Linked DNA regions of Homo sapiens: all the other regions are linked to region 1. Evidence: promoter capture Hi-C in 16 types of primary human blood cells and fetal thymus (Javierre and others, 2016). All regions are on one chromosome and are shown on one strand. The core of a region is centred on a gene start or on the middle of the fragment in contact, and the rest is flanking DNA. Distances in the headings are between cores, read along the strand shown. Region 1 holds the start of SP100 (SP100 nuclear antigen). Region 2 holds the start of SPATA3-AS1 (SPATA3 antisense RNA 1). Region 3 holds the start of PSMD1 (proteasome 26S subunit, non-ATPase 1).

Region 1 (2,700 bases), core at 75-2,574:
GAAACAGTGACCTTCGCCCACCGGCAAAGCTGTCCTCACCAATGTCCTGGTGCCTGGTCATTCACTCATGGGGAAAAGAAGAGCAGAAGTAGAGTGAGGGTAGAAAGCCCCTTCCCCCACATTTTCAAATGTACCTGGACAAGCATCCTTATTCACAGCTGGAAGAAGTTGGATTCAGTAGAATGCCATTTGGAAAACACCGTTCTGAAGTGCCATCCCCTCTGGCCCCTGAATCCTCACCAGCTTCCACCCTCTGCTCACCTTGGGCCCTGGATTCCAGCGCCCCCAGGCTCCCAGCTGCCTCCCTGTCTCTGCCCCATGGTCCGGCCTGGAGTTCTGGTCCCTGGTTGTGTCCTGTGGCCCCATTCTCATGCGCCCTTTGCTTCTGTTTCTTTACCTATGACTTTATACTGATGTAAAGCGAGTCTTCTCGGTCGCTTCTTGTTCTCTGAGGAATGATGAATCAGAATCTAAATGGAAAATCTGGGCAGAGATAGAACCTCCCGCGGGAGCCACCCTGCCCTTCCATGTCTAGATCATCTGGGTTCCAACCTCCATCCTCCTCCAATGAGAAGCTTTTGTTCTCTCAAGATTCCAGTGACTTCTCCGAAGCTTAGGTGTCTCTTCACCCCTGGCTGTTCCAAGGCGGCCCCATAGTCAAGATTCCTTAAACCCTTGCCCCTTAAAATGTTTGCCTTTCTTACCATGCTGGCTCCAGCCTCTGGTCCCAGGGGTGTGGAGAGTTCTCTCTTACTTCTGGCTGATTTCCAGGAAGGCTAAGCACACTCTCCCCAGGTTATAATGCTGAGCATTTTGGTTCTCTCCAGCCCTGGGTCCCAATGTCAGGACCTACCTTAGTCCAGTCCATGCTCTCCCATGGGCCTGAGAGAAGATTTGAGGTTTCTGGCTTTCCCTCCAACCCTCCAACTCCCACCCCAAGCCATGTCAGCAAGGGGAAGGGGCAAACATGGAGTTTCCCCCCCAACTCCCATGTAAACTATGCCCCCTCTTAGAGGGCAGAGCAGCTAAGGACAATTTTGTTTCAAGGACATTTTTTTTGGCTGTGTATTGCACAAACAAGTGGACACCCGGGAGCTGGCCCTGCTCGTCCCCTGGGCCCTCCTTCCCTGGTCCTGCAGGTCTTGCTGCTTGTCAGGCCTCTCCTCCAACCCTCTGCCACATTTCAGAAAAGCTGAGAATCCCTTGGAGTGAAAAAGGAGGAGAAACACAGTGTCCGTAGCCCAGAAGGAGGTTAAATACTTTCACTTCTCTTTTCCCCATTTGGGCGGAGCCCTTTCTGAGTCAGTCTGTCGGCCGACTTCCTGCTTGGGGCCTGGGCAGCCACACTGCACGCAGGCTGGGCCGACTGAGGGGCTCAGAGGCCAGGCTCTGAGGCCCACGCAGGGCCTAGGGTGGGAAGATGGCAGGTGGGGGCGGCGACCTGAGCACCAGGTGAGTCTTTATCTCCCTTCCTTTAACCTTTATCTCTGGCTATATTGCAGCTTTCATGCCTTTAGTTCAGTTTGTGCCTAAGGCTTCACTTTAATCCTTCTTTGCAAGAACATAGGTATGCGATGTTATATAATGAAATGAAAGACAAGTAATGAGGAAATCAGATTTTTTAAACAGGAGCAGGACAGCTGTTGGTGTGAGTTCAACTTGCCATAACACACGTGACTTTCTTGTTTTGGATTTACTGCTCAGCTGACCGGGACACTCTAAACATAGCAGTTGTTGGTGGCTGGGATTAACTATTTCCTCATGATCTGTGAACCCTTTCACCCCTCAGCCTTCCTCTACCTTCAAATATGTCATGTCAAAAAAGGTGCTTTAGAAAATAAACACTCCAGGGTAAACACCTGGCTTACTTTTAAACATCAGACGCTGTGGTCTCACCTGTCCTGGCAAGGGGCCTCTGCCGGCTGTTCCCATGACTGGCTCAGGGTCTGAGTTCTTATTCCATCAACCTTGATCAAAAGAAGGAAAGGGAAGAAAAAGGCCCAGGGTGACAAACGGCTAAATATTTTCATTTTTACCTCAATTTCCTGTCCCAAGATGGGGGATACCTCTGACCAGAAAAGAGAAGGAAATCCTAACTTTTCTCTAGTAGTGAGTTGAGAAATAACATTACTTAATCTTTTAAATTTTTTAATACAAAAGAAATACACTGTACATTATTGTTCATAAAATTTAAAACAGTGGAGAAGTATATTAAGGAAAAAGTCATCTTTGCCACTCAGCCATTCTTGTAGCTTCTCTTCCCAGTCCTGTGAAGAGTCTTGGGCACAGCTTTTCTTATATTTTTCTATGCATTTATATATCTAATGCATTTTTTGTAAATACGTAATTTATGTTCTTGATTTATAATAAATTATATTACATGTGCTAGTCTGCATTTTGCATTTTTACTTATTTTAATAGTGGAAAACTTAGAGATCTTTTAACCTTAATACATATAGATCTGCCTCATTCTTTTTATACATGCTATTCCATAGAATTGATATATGATAATTATTTATTCTCCAATTGAAGGACATTTAGATTGTTTTTAAATTGTTCACATTTACCAATAAGCTATCATAACAATGATTATATATTTCTTTTTGGGTTTTTACATCTAAACAAATATTTATCTTGTCTCTAAACCTTAAAAATGTAATTATTGAGGCAAAGGGTCCAGTTATTTACTTGGTCCTGCCA
Region 2 (2,700 bases), core at 7-2,506, 580 kb after region 1:
ACCCTGGGAAAGTAACTTAATTTCGCTAAACCTCAGTGTTCTGAGGAAAGGTCATCATTAAGGTATTTTTAGGCTCTAGAAGCCCTAAACTATGTCCTGTCATTTCAGAGTTCATGTTGGGTCTGGCTTTGTGTGGCCCAAAGCCCCCCATTTTTTTTTAAGACAGAGTCTCGCTCTGTCGCCCAGGCTGGAGTGCAGTGGCACGATCTCGGCTCACTGAAAGCTCCACCTCCAAGGTTCACGCCATTCTCCTGCCGAGTAGCTGGGACTACAGGCACCCACCACCACGCCCGGCTAATTTTTTGTATTTTTAGTAGAGACGGGGTTTCACCATGTCAGCCAGGATGGTCTCAATCTCCTGACCTCGTGATCTGCCCGCCTCAGCCTCCCAAAGTGCTGGGATTACAGGCGTGACCGAAGCCCTTTTTATCTGCATAGGTCTGCTCTAAACCTTCCGCTGGGGCAGGAGCTCCTGCGCTTGCCAGTCCCACACTCACCCACCTGTGACACACTGGCGATGAAAGCAGTCTCCTCAGGTGAACACATTTTATGTTGCAGTCACAGTATGAGCTTCAGATTGTCTTTTAAAAATACTTTTCCTTCTTCCATCCTAAAACAAAAATCACATTTAATGAGCACATTAAATTAATTAATCTAGAGAAAGATTCAGTCACCTGTTTAACCCAACCAATTGGGGTTTGGGAGATAGTCTGTGGTTGCCATTGCCATGAGTTTGAGACAAATGTTAGTTTTCTGAACAGCTGTTATGTTCTCAGGGAAAATTATCTGCCAAATGCAAAGGTTCTTATAAAAGTCAAGTCAACCCCCAAACTCCCCTCCCACAGTGCGGGAGGGCAGGCTTTGGGGGAAGGGGTAAGCTACTCTGAGATGGTAGCAGGCTCTGGGCCATGGTAAAGCCTTCGAAGAAGCTCCAAATCTTCAGGAAGCTGACCTGAAGATGAATGCGTGGGGAACATGGATTTTTGAGGTGTAGGAGTAGGGGGTATGTGGAAGCCAGTGACAGAGCTGAGCGTCACATCCAGGGTATCTTAGAGCAAAACAGGTAGCTCACATGGACCCAGGAACACGCCAGCAGAGAGGTGTCTGAAGGCAGCGCTCAGGTCGCAGAAGCATGAGGATCTGGCTGTCACCAGCCCCGTAGCCAGGGCTGTGAGGACCAGGGCAGCCGCTGTCCCCTGCCTAGCCTGGCAGCCTGGGATGAAGGAGGACACCAGGCTGGTGTCTGCAGAGAAGACTGTCCCTTGAAGCCCTGCCATAGGAGCCACCCTGGCTTTTATGACCTCACAGGAGGTGTGGGTCACTGTTCTCTGTGGGGCCTGGGTCCAGCTGGAGGCCCAAGCCAGGCTCCTAGGGCAGAGGGCAAACGGCCCCTCCAGGAGGGAGCCGGGAGATTACGCAGCTCCATGTAGGTCCACGTTTAGGTTGGGAGGATCTACCATGAAGAAGGTCAAGAAGAAAAGGTCAGAGGCCAGACGCCACCGAGACTCCACCTCCCAGCATGCTAGCTCCAATTCCACCTCTCAGCAGCCTAGCCCTGAATCCACACCACAGCAGCCTAGTCCTGAATCCACACCACAGCAGCCTAGCCCTGAATCCACACCACAGCATTCCAGCCTTGAAACCACCTCCCGGCAGCCAGCATTCCAAGCCCTTCCAGCACCCGAAATCCGCCGCTCCTCTTGCTGCCTTTTATCTCCAGATGCTAACGTGAAGGCAGCCCCTCAATCCAGGAAAGCAGGTGGGCTGTCTTCTAGCTTCAGCAGTTCCAGCCTTCCTGCTGATGGAGTTCTGGGTCATCCCAAAGGCTGGTTCTTGTAGGATAGTGATGCATGGTTAACGTGTATCCTGGAGCTGTGCTGTAGAGTGGGAAGGTTTTTGTTTTTGTTTCTACCCAAGAGACCAGGATTCCTGGGTTTTGTCATTTCTCATCATCCTGAGTCTCACTGAAGACAGCCACACATACATATAAACATTTAACTTGGTTCCATAGTAATACTTGCTCACTAGGAATCAGCAGTGCCATGCAACTGCTAAAAAATAAAAACCAAGGATGCATTTATAGAAGTATATGGTTTAGAATAAGGGAGGTGATGATACTGCTTTATTCTGTCCTCATCAAGCTATCCTTTTGGGCTGTAAAAGATGCCTGACAAACTAGTCCAAGGAAGATAGTCTGGGTTGATGGAGGATGAGAAGGATCAGGGAGACCATTTAGTGTATGACAGTCAATTGAAGGAATTGGAGGATGTCTGTCTGTCAAGTGGAAGATGTGAATAGACTTGTTCCTTATTGTCCTCAGAGATCTAAGGGTCTGATGTGGTTTGGCTGTGTCCCCACCCAAATCTCTTCTTGAATTCCCAGGTGTTGTAGGAAGGACCCAGTGGGAAGTGATTGAATCACGGGGGAGGGTCTTTTCCGTGGTGTTCTCGTGATAGTGAATAAGTTTCATGAGATCTAATGGTTTTAAAAAAGGGAGTTTCCCTGCACAAACTCTCTTCTCTTGTCTGCCGCCATGTGAGATGTGCCTTTCACCTTCCACCATGATTGTGAGGCCTCCCCAGCCACGTGGAACTGTAAGTTCCACAAACCTCTTTCTTTTGTAAATTGCCTAGTCTCAGATATGTCTTTATCAGCAGTGTGAAAACAGACAAATACAGGCCCATGGATAGGATAGCCAGA
Region 3 (2,700 bases), core at 14-2,513, 640 kb after region 1:
GAATCGCTTGAACCCAGGAGGCGGAGGTTGCAGTGAGCCGAGATCGCGCCATTGCCCTACAGCCTGGGTGGCAGAGGGACACTCCATCTCAAAAAAAAAAAAAAAGAAGTACCTCTGTAGAATGACACCCCAAGTAATCTGTTTACTTTGCATGCACATCTTCTCGAGCCCTGCCTTTCAATCTGAGCCACAGGCTCTTCAAAAATGTTCAATAATTATATTTAATATATTTTAAACAACCACAGTTTAAGAATTCTAATTTAAACAAAAAAAGTCACAGATACAACAAAATGTGTTATCAAGCACATTTAATTCACTGGCAACCACAAGACATTGATTGTGCCCCTAGGTTACGTAGAAGGCCGTAGAAATGAACTCGCCATCGCTGTGCGATTGAAGAGTTTAGCTTGATAGTGCAAGGCCGGTGGCTGAAAAAAATGCTACCGTTTGCCCTATTCCTTGTCAAGACTTTCTCAGTACTGACTCTTGAAATAAATTGACTTCTTGAAGCTAGCATAAGACTGCAAATGGCCATTGCAACTGCCATTTCAAATTTCTGAAGATGTATTAGAAACGAAGAACCCACTGCCGTCGGGGGAAAGAGGACCTGGGCAGATAGAAGGAAAGAATGGAAGACATTTTTTCTCCCTTGGAAAGGCTTTCGCCATATAACTACTGCACATTTTAATATATTGACAACACTGGACATTTTTCCAAAAGTAAGTAAAAACCTTCATTGTTCAACTTTATAATAAGCCAATGATTACTTGTGGATTCATTATGATAATAAAGCACTTCTATGGGGATTTTCTTTTTTTTATGATAGGTTTTGCTTTAGAAAACAATTGAAAGCCACTTTTCTGGGAAAAAAAACAAAAAACAAAAAAAAACGCTGTTTGCGGCAGCCCCAATTCCCTAAGCATTATCTGGTGGGAGATGTGTTGCAGCGAGACCTCCCACCAGTAGGTGGCACTGCGCGCAATGCTCGCACCTCCCCTCAACACCCTTTCTCTCAGCAATGGCGGGTGATGGTGGGGGTCCTCTCTTTGCAGGGCTGGCCATTCTAATGCCTGACCTCAGGTGCAGACCAGTGTTCCGTTGCGCGGGACTCCTGACCTCGAGGAGGTTTAGAGAAAACAATGGTGTTCTCTGTGTACCCTTCCGCGAGGGCTGGGGAGTATACCGCCGCGCAGAAGACGCAGGCCAGGGGAGAATTCGCGCCGGGCGGCAGGCGGGGTGGCGGGCAGCCCCTGGGCGGGCGGGGTCCTGGCGAGAAGCGAGCCGGCGGCCTGAGGAGGCGACTGACTGAGCAGCGCACCCGGGGAGCAAGGAGGCGCGGTGAACTGAGCGGCCCCTGAGCTGACAGATACACTGCGCAGCTGGAACGGCGAGCGAGCCGACGGGCGAGTGAGGGGCGCAGCCATGATCACCTCGGCCGGTGAGTGCGGCCCGTAGCCAGCGCCTGGAGGGAGGAGCCGCCGCCGCGCCGGCTTTTAGCTGAGTCAGGGCCGGTGACTGGGCGCCTCCCGGCGGAACGCCGGCCTGGGCAGCTTCTTGCTGCCCAGGGCCCACCCCCGGGCCGGGGGGCTGGGAGTCTGATCAGGTCACTGCGTGCTTCTCTGGCTTGAGGGAATCGAGCCGGGTCGACCGCCTCGGCATCCCTCCCCAATCACACCCCAGCGCCAGGACCCGAGGGGCTTCCTGGGCCTTCCCCTGACCCCAGAAGGGCTTACCTTTTTTCTGTGCCTCCCATTCTTGGCCGTGTGAGGTCGTCCAGCCCCAGTTCTTGCCCGCAGGGGGCCGGGGTGGGATGGGCCCCTGTGCCATTGAACAGTAAGGCAAACCCCCCTGATCGGGCAGCCTAACTGCTACAGAAGTGTTTCTGGACGTGGCCGAGCTCCATTCGCCTTAGAATGAAACCCGAAATTAGGTTTGAGGTGGGTCATTTCTGGGTCCGATCCAAGGGTGTTCATTCAAAACACCCAGAGAACTTTTGGGTTCGGCGAAGACCCTAAAGACGCCCTGGAGATACCTTTATACTGAGAGCCTACTTATACCCTTTCGAGGTTATGTGCTCAGTCTGTTGACTGTACATTCAAGAAAGAATGGATGGATCTGCGGAGCAGGTTTCATACGCGCAAACCATTGCATAGGTAGATTCACGTAGTGACATTTGCAATGGAGTAAGTTACAGAGATCAAGTTTCAATTGGAGACTTAAGCTCCCCGTTACAGATTGACTTGCATATAGCTGTCCAGAGCCTTGGTGCTTTTTTCCGTTGCCTATTTACATACCCTTTTCTCATTTTCTTACTCTGTGTTTGACCCACAAAGAAAGCATTTTATTGTAAACAAACTGGTGAGCAGAAGACAGTAATCTGAATGGTAAGGCGATCAAAACTTTATTTTTATGAGGATTGGTTAAGGAGATCGTTGGAGATACTGGGAGACGTAGTTACTTTCAAACATTTGAAGAGCTGTCACTTGTACCTGAAATAAGACTTTTTGTCCCCAAGAGATACAAGTGATCGCGAGATGAATTTTAGTTCAGTATCAGGAAGTTTTTCCAGTCAGAGCTTTGTAAAGATCAAATAAACACTCAGTTTCTTGCCACCTATAGGCCTCATTCTATTTCAAATCCATCCATTACCAATGTTTCTTCTAACTCGGCCCAAACCACCTTCATCTCTTGTCTGGGTTA

The links. The method cuts DNA at HindIII sites, captures the fragments that hold promoters and counts their contacts. A CHiCAGO score of 5 or more calls a contact.
Region 2: a contact is called between the fragment with the promoter of SPATA3-AS1 here and the fragment with the promoter of SP100 in region 1, in 4 of 17 cell types (naive CD8 T cells, activated CD4 T cells, total CD8 T cells and 1 more). The highest score is 7.9, in naive CD8 T cells.
Region 3: the fragment with the promoter of PSMD1 here is called in contact with the fragment with the promoter of SP100 in region 1 in 8 of 17 cell types (activated CD4 T cells, total CD4 T cells, non-activated CD4 T cells and 5 more); the score reaches 9.6 in activated CD4 T cells.

What each region holds. Positions count from the first base shown.
Region 1 is chr2:230,414,877-230,417,576 of GRCh38, forward strand. It overlaps SP100 (SP100 nuclear antigen), which reads left to right and starts at 1,325. Exons shown (of 29, transcript NM_001080391.2): 1 at 1,325-1,452. The coding sequence starts at 1,421. RefSeq lists an enhancer at 972-1,491. The HindIII fragment of the contact is 2,432 bases long and covers 611-2,700 here.
Region 2 is chr2:230,994,776-230,997,475 of GRCh38, forward strand. SPATA3-AS1 (SPATA3 antisense RNA 1) reads right to left here and starts at 1,257. Exons shown (of 6, transcript NR_033879.1): 1 at 1,073-1,257; 2 at 502-610. SPATA3 (spermatogenesis associated 3) reads left to right here and starts at 1,346. Exons shown (of 5, transcript NM_139073.5): 1 at 1,346-1,759. The coding sequence starts at 1,459. RefSeq lists an enhancer at 857-1,390. The HindIII fragment of the contact is 18,304 bases long and covers 1-2,700 here.
Region 3 is chr2:231,055,604-231,058,303 of GRCh38, forward strand. PSMD1 (proteasome 26S subunit, non-ATPase 1) reads left to right here and starts at 1,264. Exons shown (of 25, transcript NM_002807.4): 1 at 1,264-1,438. The coding sequence starts at 1,423. LOC112268432 (a long non-coding RNA gene) reads right to left here and starts at 2,143. Exons shown (of 2, transcript XR_002959456.2): 1 at 1,734-2,143. RefSeq lists a silencer at 1,165-1,354. The HindIII fragment of the contact is 9,212 bases long and covers 1-2,700 here.